2 separate regions of the Homo sapiens genome follow, and region 1 is linked to region 2. Evidence: promoter capture Hi-C in human tissues and cell types (Jung and others, 2019). All regions are on one chromosome and are shown on one strand. Each heading gives the region's core, a stretch centred on a gene start or on the middle of the fragment in contact. The rest is flanking DNA. Distances are from core to core; before and after follow the strand shown.

What was found. Contacts are between HindIII fragments. The study calls those that stand out against the background at their distance.
Region 1: a fragment that was not itself captured here is called in contact with the fragment with the promoter of NINL in region 2 in 4 of the 25 tissues and cell types used here (hippocampus, mesenchymal stem cells, spleen and 1 more).

The regions. Positions count from the first base shown.
Region 1 is chr20:25,521,024-25,525,930 of GRCh38, reverse strand. All of the region lies in intron 2 of NINL (ninein like), which reads left to right. Among named protein-coding and RNA genes, the nearest start is that of NINL, 62 kb to the left of the region's middle. The HindIII fragment of the contact is 4,223 bases long and covers 1,535-4,907 here.
Region 2 is chr20:25,582,678-25,587,191 of GRCh38, reverse strand. NINL (ninein like) reads left to right here and starts at 1,661. Exons shown (of 24, transcript NM_025176.6): 1 at 1,661-1,737. RefSeq lists a silencer at 1,597-1,726. The HindIII fragment of the contact is 43,094 bases long and covers 1-4,514 here.

The DNA of each region.
Region 1 (4,907 bases), core at 2,397-4,896, 63 kb after region 2:
CAAAAGTATCCCATAATTTCATCTAGGCCAGATAGAAAACGTGAAATTAGAGGGTTCTTTTCTATCAGAAGGTCAAGATCATCTAGAATGGGGATCTTGGTCCTAGACTGCAACCTGCTTTCATGATCAAAACACTAAAAAGCACCTCCCCATTCCTACTTCTTAAACATGCCTGGATGTTACTGCTAACAGCAGTGCCTTATCTTGTTGGTCATCTTAACTTTGAAGGAATAATATTTTTTCCACAAGACTCAGTATTTTCTTTTCGTTTGTTTTTTTGAGACAGTCTCACTTTGTCATCCAGGCTGGAGTGTAGTGGAGCCGTCTCAGCTCACTGCAACCTTCAACTCCCAGACTCAAGCAATCCTCCCGCCTCAGTCCCCCAAGTAGCTGGGACTACAGGCCTGCACCACCACACCGGCCTAATTTTTGTATTTTTTTTGTAGAGATGGGGTTTTGCCATGTTACCCAGGCTGGTCTCGAATGCCTGAGCTCTAGCAATCCACGTGCCTTGGCCTCCCAAAGTGCTATGATTACAAGTATGAGCCACTGCACCCAGCCAGTATTTTTATTTTGAATTGGGGAAAAGAAACCCAGCCAGTAAATTTTCCTGAAATGGCCCTTGGGCCAAAACAAATGAAGAAAAGAACCACTCACTGCTGGCCTAGTAGAGAGTCTGGTTGAATCCGACTTCTTGTTAGTTCCTCAAAGAAGCCTCACCTGCCCTGTCAGCAGGGCACTGTGCCTCCCTCATAAGGAACTCTCCTCAGGCAAACTCATGCCCTTTCTCTGACTTTGGTTTCTATTCCTGCATTTTTCAATGCGCTTAAGAAGGCAAATGTGTTATTGATAGATAATGATCTAGCCTCTCTTGATATCACCTGGAAGTGTGTTTGGGACATAGATGAGCAAAAGGCACATTTATGAAAAATCAACGCTCTGGTTATTTAAGCAATACAGACAGATGGTCCCGTTTATTTATTTATATATATATATATACACACACATATATATATATATATATATTTTAATTTGAGTCTGTCTCTTGCTGAATTGATATTTTTGAAAAATCAAGAATTTAGAAATCAAACTTTGGAAAATTCAAAACCAAAAGAGTAACTTTGGGTCCACGTTCAGATTGCAGGCTCTGCTGATTGAATAAGCCACGTCATTCCCAAGGATTTCTTCACTTTATGTTTACAGGAATGATACAAGACAGAAACATCCAATTCTGATAGAATAACCATGATTGGTATTAGAGCATCAGCAAGGAGAGAAATTCGCTTGGGTTACATGAGATTTCTGACTGGAACCCTGTCACACGCACCCTGAAAAGCGGCTCATCTGAGATGGAATTTCCTTTCAGGAGGCCTGAGGCTTCTCATATGTGTGTGGGGAGGGGATGAGAAGAAAGTTGGGTACCACAAGCAGTGGCAGGAGCCGGGCCCTTTCTGACTCAGCTCCCCCTGGGATAGCCATGCGTGTCCAGCCATCGTCCTTCCGTCTGTCCCAGCTCCATCCCCTCCTACAGCCATGCTTCCCAGAAAGCAAGTCAGATGTTAGATAAACTAAGAAGTCACTTTGTTTGCACTAGTGCTCTCGACTCTGCTCTGACGTTATCCTTTCTCTTCTCTCTGTAACATTTCGAGAGCACCCTGCTGGTGCTGCAGATGCCTAGCGTTCACCTCTCCCTGCCTGTCCCTTCATCCTGTCTCCTCGGAGATGGTTGGTCATGGTGGACCATTTTTCTTTTCAGGCTCTGCTTGCTTCTCTGCTTCATACCACAGACAGGGCAGAGCTCCCACAGCCCCTATAGGTGGAACGTCATACAGAGATTTAAGGGAAGCGGTATCAAGTCAGAAATATCCGTATAGGTGTCCCAGTTTTTCTACAAGAAACCCAATGGTAGAGATTTCAGGGAGTCTCAAAACCAAGATAAACCCTTTATCCAGGAGAATGGATTGGCTTTTCAGTTCAAATACTACATATCTGGGTCAGGCGCAGTGGCTCACACCTGTAGTCCCAGCACTTTGGGAGGCCAAGGCAGGTGGATCACAAGTTCGGGAGGTGGAGATCAGCCTGACCAATGTGGTGAAACCCCATCTCTAATAAAAATACAAAATTAGCCGGCGTGGTGGCACGCACCTGTAATCCCAGCTACTCAGGAGGCTGAGGCAGGAGAATCACTTGAACCCGGGAGGTGGAGGTTGCGGTGAGCCAAGATCGCGCCATTGCACTCCAGCCTGGGCGACAGAGCAAGACTCCATCTCAAAAAAACAAGCAAACAAACAAATACTACATATCCAGTCCTTGTAGTAACTATCATATATGATATTATATAAACGTTACTGATACAGAAATCTCATAAAAATGAAACAGGCCAGGTGCGGTGGCTCACACATGTAATCCCAGCACTTTGGGAGGCCAATGTGAGAGGATTGCTTAAGTCTAGGAGTTCAAGATTAGCCTGGGCAACAGAGTGAGACCTCGTCTCTACAGAAGAATCTTAAAGGTAGCTGGATGTGGTGGCATGCACCTGTAATTCCAGCTACTTGTGAGGCTGAGCTGGGAGGATTGCTTGAGCCCAGGAGTTTGAGGCTGTAGTGAGGTGTGATTGTGTCACTGCACTCCAGCCTGGGCAACAGCATGAGACCTTGTCTCATATATATATATATATTCTCTCATATATATATATTCTCTCATATATATATATTCAGAAAAAGAAAGGATGGTCACATCTCTATTGAACAGGTATGGACCTTTTTCTTCTCACTATTTCCTAAACAATGCAGCCTAAAACTATTTACATAGTATTTACATTGTATTGGCTATTATAAGTAATCTAGAGCTAATTTAAAACATACAGGAGGATGAGCATAGGTTATATGCAAATACTACATTTTATACAAAGGACTTGAGTATCTGTGGAGTTTGGTATCTGCCAAGGGTCCCGGAACCAATCCCCCAGGGATACTGAGAGACAATTGTAATTTGAAGTTGAAAGTACCTCTAGATCACACATTGCAGCCTCTTTACTTTGTGATGAATGAGTCTAAGATCATGCAGAGATGGGATGGTGTATCTTATTGGTAAAATACCTGAATATATGGGGTTGCCGCTCGCCTTTTGTGAACTGTAAAGAAGGACACAAGAAAACAGACAAGTGTGGTCAAGATGGTATCAGACTGAAATGGCACCAGACTGGGCCATCTGATCCCACTGCTCTTTGATGGATGGAAGAAAGTCAGCTGGCAATTATTACCAACAACACAAAAGAATCTGTGATTAGAATGAGCAAAATTGCAATTTCATCATTCGTTTAGTATTTGACAACTATTTTTGAGGGACTTATTATGTGCTAGGCAACACCAGATGCTAGGGATGCAAGGAGGAAAGACTCACAGTTTCTATCTTCATGTGAAAGGACATGCATTCAAGGTATGCATTCTAGCATTGATTCAGATAGGAAAAATGTGGAAACAGCTTTTTCAGTATGGGATTGGTTAAATAATCCTGGTAGCTCCATTTGTTGAAATCTTTTTGCAGCCCTAAAAAAAGGAAGAAGCAGTTCAGATGTTCTGATAGTGGCAAGTGAGCTAACTCAGGCCAAGCTTTCAAGGAGGACTACTAGAAAAACTGAACAAAATAATAAAAACAAATATTTTGAAAACAGTAAAGAGCAAATAAATCAGTGAGAAATTGCCAGTCAAAAAATCTGCGATAGGCTTGGCATGGTGGCTCAGGTCTGTAATCCCAGTACTTTGGTAGGCCAAGGCAGGAGAATCACTTGAGCTCAGGAGTTCAAGACCAGTCTGGGCAACATAGCCAGACCTTGTCTCTACTAAAAATAAAAAACAATTAGCTGGGGGTGGTGGTACACACATGTAGACCCACCTACTCAGGAGGCCAAGGTGGAGGATCACTTGAGCTTGGGAGATTGAAGCTGCAGTGAGCTGTGATTGAGCCTGAGTGAGATCTTGTCTCAGAAACAAACAAAAAAAAAGTGTAGTAAATTAAGTACCCAGAGAGGTAAGCTTAGCACACAAAAGCCCATTTTCCCTGAGAATATTTTGTGATTTTAAGTAAGCAACTGAGAAATTGATCTGTGACCTTGGGGGCCTCAAAGAGCCCCAGAAACATATGTCAAAACCCGGAGTCATTCAAGGTAGAAACCCAGGGTTGACAAACCAACCCCAAATTTAAGGAAGAATCCTGAAGGGTAAGACCTGTAGGGTAAAGATGAATTGCAGTCAGTCATTATACTGCTTTGTGGTCTGGTCTTATATCCCTCAGTACACTAGATAATCTCAAATCCTGCACTTAGATTACTGGCACTGCATGGATAGGCACCTAGCCAAAGCAAACAATAAAAGTGCCACCATCCCAAATCTGAAATTTTTCCTAAATAATAGCCAAATACAATGACCAGCATATGATAAAGGAAAGCTGGGCAAACAAACAAGACAGATGAGCAAGAACTAGCAGAAACAACTGACAATGGAAGCACACCCGCAAATATGTGAGATATTAGAATTGTTAGACACAAAATATAAAACAACTATGGTTACTATATTAGAGATTTTTTTAGAGCTTAAAAAATATCTAAAAGAACTCTGAAAAGTGAAGTAACAAATCTGAACAATGAACCAAATAAAATGTCTAGAACTGAAAAGTATGATCACCAAAATTTAAAACTAAATAGAAGCATTTAACAGCAGATTAGACACAGCTGAAGAGACCATTCATTAACTGGAGTCATCCAGAATGCAGCATGAAGATATAAAAAGAGGTGGTACAGATGGAGTGAGAAAGTCCAGCATCCCTTTAACTGGAGTCCTGGGAGGAAACAAGTGAATGCTGGAGGGGCATTATGTGAAGAAGTAATAGCTAAAACATTTTCAGGACAG
Region 2 (4,514 bases), core at 412-2,911:
AGGCGCGCGTTAACCACAACTGGCTAATTTTTTTGTGTTTCAGTAGACACTGGGTTTCACCATGTTGGCCACGCTGGTCTCGAACTCCTGTCCTCAGGCAATCTGCCCACAGTGGCCTCCCAAACTACTGGGATTACAGGCATGAGTCACCGTGCCTGGCTGTATTTACTTTTTTTTTTCTTTTTTTGAAATGGAGTCTCACTCTGTCGCCCAAGCTGGAGTGCAGTGGCTTGATAACCACAACCTCCGCCTCCCAGATTCAAGCGATTCTCCTGTCTCAGCCTCCTGAGTAGCTGGGATTACAGGCATATGCCATCACGCCCGGCTAATTTTGTATTTTTAGTAGAGACGGGGTTTCTCCATGTTGGTCAGGCTGGTCTTGAACTCCCGACCTCAGGTGATCCGCCTGCCTCAGCCCCCCAAAGTGCTGGGATGACAGGCATGAGCCACTATGCCCGGCCGGGTATTTACGTTTTTAAATTGTTTTCTGTGTAAACTCTATAAGGGCCAGGGATTTTTTGCACCGCTGTTGGCAGCCCCTAGGACAATGCCTGGCCCTAGTAGGTGTTCGATAAATATATACAGGTTGAATATCCCTTAACCGAGATGCTTGGCACCAGAAGCATTTAGGATTTCAGATTTTGGAATATTTGCATTATACCAATTGAACACCCCTAATCTGAAAATCCAAAATTAGAAATGCTCCAATGAGGCCAGGTGCGGTGGCTCATGCCAGTAATCCCAGCACTATGGGAGGCCAAGGTGGGAGGATCACTTGAGGCCAGAAATTCCAGACCAGCCTGGGCAACATGGTGAAGCCTCCTCTCTTAAAAAAATACAGGCCGGGCGCGGTGGCTCACGCCTGTAATCCCAGCACTTTGGGAGGCCGAGGCGGTGGATCCATCCCTTGAGCCTAGGAGTTCGAGACCAGCCTGGGCAACACAGTGAGACTCTGTGCTAAAAATACAAAAATTAGCGGACATGGTGGCAGATGCCTGCAGTCCCAGCTACTGGGGGTTGGGACGCTGAGGCGGGAGGATCGCCATAGCCGGGAAAGTCGAGGCTGTAGTGAGCCATGACCGCGCCACTGCATCCCAGGCTGGGCAGCAGAAGTGACAGCCTTTCTCAAAAGAAAAGAAAGTTAAAAGAAGAAAAAAGAAGTGCTCCAATGTGCATTTCCTTTGAGCATCAGGTCAGCGCTCAAAAACTTTCAGATTTTGAAGCATTTCGGATTTCAGATGTTTGGATTAGGGATGCTCAACCCGTATTGATTTAATATGCGGTGGAAACGTGACGACCTAGGTTTTAAGTCGCGGTTTCCTCAGTGGTGGGTTTGGGGTATTACCCCTGCCTGGCCGGCCTCCGGGCTTGTTTCCAGAAGATGCTACCCCGAGAGCTGCGAACCGCCAAGCTCCGCAGCGCGCAGGGCTCCGACAGGGACCAGCGAGGTCAGCTCCAAGGGTCACCCCAGGCTCCAAACTGGCCAGAGCCGCCCTGAGATTTGCGGAGGCCGCCTTGCCCCCACCCCGCCCCGCAATCCCGGACCCGACCCGCCCCCTCTCCCGTTCGCTCGCCCCGCCCCCTGTTCGCCCACTGCGCCGGGACACCGAGGGGGCGGTGCCTCGAGGCCGGGAGGAGTGTTGCGTCGCGGCCTCCAGACACAAAGAGCGGCCGGCGGTACGGGGGTGGTGCCGCGCTCCTGGCCCCGCGCGGGCGGACGGCGGAGGCGCCTCCCAGGTGAGCCGGCCCGGGCGTCCGGCGGGACATTCAGGCGGCTGGTGGGGTCGAGAGTCCGGGGCCGCCCCTGCGTCGCGACCCGCGCCTTAGTCACCAGACCCGGCTCCGGGAGCGCGGCCTCGGGTGCTCCTCGCGGTGCGGGGCGCAGACTCGGCGCATCTGCTGTGGTGCCTGCTCTTCCGGTCGCCCTCGAGGGCGGGGCGGGGGTCACGCCCTAAAATACAGCGCCCGCTGGGCCGAACGCTTGAAAACCCGGTTTCCCGACGGCGGCGGCGCGGGCGCCGTGCGAACGAGGGCCCGGGTCCAGCACAGCCCCAAGGCTCGGCCTGAGGCGGGCGGCCTTGGCCGGGGCCCCCCGTGGTAATGAGCTACGCGGTGCCCGCCGCCTGCCCAGCGCGGGCCGTTTCTCCTGACGCCGCCGGCGTCTGGTCGAGGCCCAGGATTCCCTCCTGCCAGTGTGGCTGCGGCCCCCCACGGAGCGGGACCCGCGTTCGTGGCGCTTGGGACGGTTGATTGAAAGGGTGTAGAAGTCTGTTGCGAATTTTATCTGTTGTACTCGTTTTGCAGATTCGCCCCTTTCCTCCCGCCTGTGCGCGCAGTCACACACACCATGTGGGAGTCTCTGATCGCGTTGGGTTCATAATCATCGATCGTGCCTGGGTACTGATGCCCCATTGTTAGGAGCTCTGTGTGGGGCTGTATGTTTGCACAGGACTCACGTGAGGAAGGGTGGCCACGTTTCTTTCTGCTCTGTGAGACTTAGGCCAAGCCCTGGAACTAGGGAGGAGGTTCAGGAAGAGACCCATGAAGCTGGCGGGGCCTTGGAGAAGGGCAAGTGATTTTCAAGGTCAGTAGTAAGAGGGGTCATGAGTAATGGTAAGTTTCTTAGCGGCCTTTGCTGTGACTTCTAGGTTTTTCACACTGGACTTAAAATACTTTTAAAAGCAGAGTTTTTGTTCTTCTTGTTGTTGTTCTTGTTGTTGTTGCTGTTTTTGAAACGAAGTTTCACTCTTGTTGCCCAGGCTGGAGTGCAATGGCGCCATCTCGGCTCACTGCAACCTCTGCCTCCCGGATTCAAGCGATTCTCCTGCCTCAGCCTCCCGAGTAGCTGGGATTACACGCCCAGCTAATTTTTTGTGTTTTTAGTGGAGATGGGGGTTTCACCATGTTGGCCAGGCTGGTCTCGAACTTCTGACCTTCAGGTGATCCAGCTGCCTCGGCCTCCCAAAGTTCTGGGATTACAGGCGTGAGCCACTGCACCCGGCCAAGTTTTTGTTTTGTTTTGTTTTTGTTTTTTAATTTTATTTTACTTTAAGTTCTGGGATACATGTGCAGAACGTTCTGGTTTGTTACATGGGTATACATGTGCCATGATGGTTTGCTGCACCTATCAACCCGTCATCTAGATTTTAAGCCCCACATACATTAGGTATTTGTCCTAATGCTCTCCCTCCTCTTGCCCCCCACCCGCCCCGACAGGTCCCGATGTGTGAGGTGTGTGATGTTCCCCTCCCTGTGTCCATGTGTTCTCATTGTCAACTCCCACTTATGAGTGAGAACATGCGGTGTTTGGTTTTCTGTTCTTGTGTTAGTTTGCTGAGAATGATGGCTTCCCACTTTATGCATGTCCCTGCAAAGGACATGAACTCATTCTTTTTTATGGCTACGTAGTATTCCATGGTGTATCTGTACCACATTTTCTTTATTCAGTCTATCCGTGATGGGCATTTGGGTTGGTTCCAAGTCTTTGCTATTGTAAATAGTGCTGCAATAAACATACACGTTTATGTGTCTTTATAGTAGAATGATTTATAGTCCTTTGGGTATATACCCAGTAATGGGATCACCGGGTCAAATGTTATTTCTGGTTCTAGATCCTTGAGGAATCGCCACACTGTCTTCCACAATGGTTGAACTAATTTACACTCCCACCAACAGTGTAAAAGCGTTCCTATTCCTCCACAGCCTCTCCAGCATCTGTTGTTTCCTTGCTTTTTAATAATTACCATTCTAACTGATGTGAGATGGTATCTCATTGTGGTTTTGATTTGCATTTCTCTAATGACCAGTGATGATGAGCTTTTTTTTTAATATATGTTGTTGGCTGCATAAATGTCTTCTTTTGAGAAGTGTCTGTTCATTTCCTTTGGCCACTTTTTGATGGGGTTGTTTTTTTCTTGTAAATTTGTTTAAGTTCCTTCTATATTCTGGATATTAGACCTTTGTCAGAAGGGTAGATTGCAAAAATTTTACCCCGTTCTGTAGGTTGCCTGTTCACTCTGAAGAGTTTCTTTTGCTGTGGAGAAGCTCTTAGGTTAGATCCCATTTGTCAGTTTTGGCTTTTGTTGCCATTGCTTTTGGTGTTTAGTCATGAAGACTTTGCCCATGCCTATGTCCTGAATAGTATTGCCTAGGTTTTCTTTTAGGTTTTTTATGGTTTTGGGTTTTACATTTAAGTCTTTAATCCATCTTGAGTTAATTTTTGCATAAGGTGTAAGGAAGGAGTCCAGTTTCTGTTTACTGCATATGGCTAGCCAGTTTTCCCAGCACAATTTATTAAATAGGAAATCCTTTCCCCATTGCTTGTTTTTGTCAGGTTTGTCGAAGATCAGATAGTTGTAGAAAGCAGAGTTTGTTTTTTTTTTAAGTAGTTAAAACTCATCTGTTAAACAGAACACTGAATCAGCAGCCTAGCAGTTTTATGAACTGTGTGCAAGAATGCTTGTATATTAAAAGGAAAATGTTCAGGTGTTAGAGAAGCAGTCTACTTTCATGCT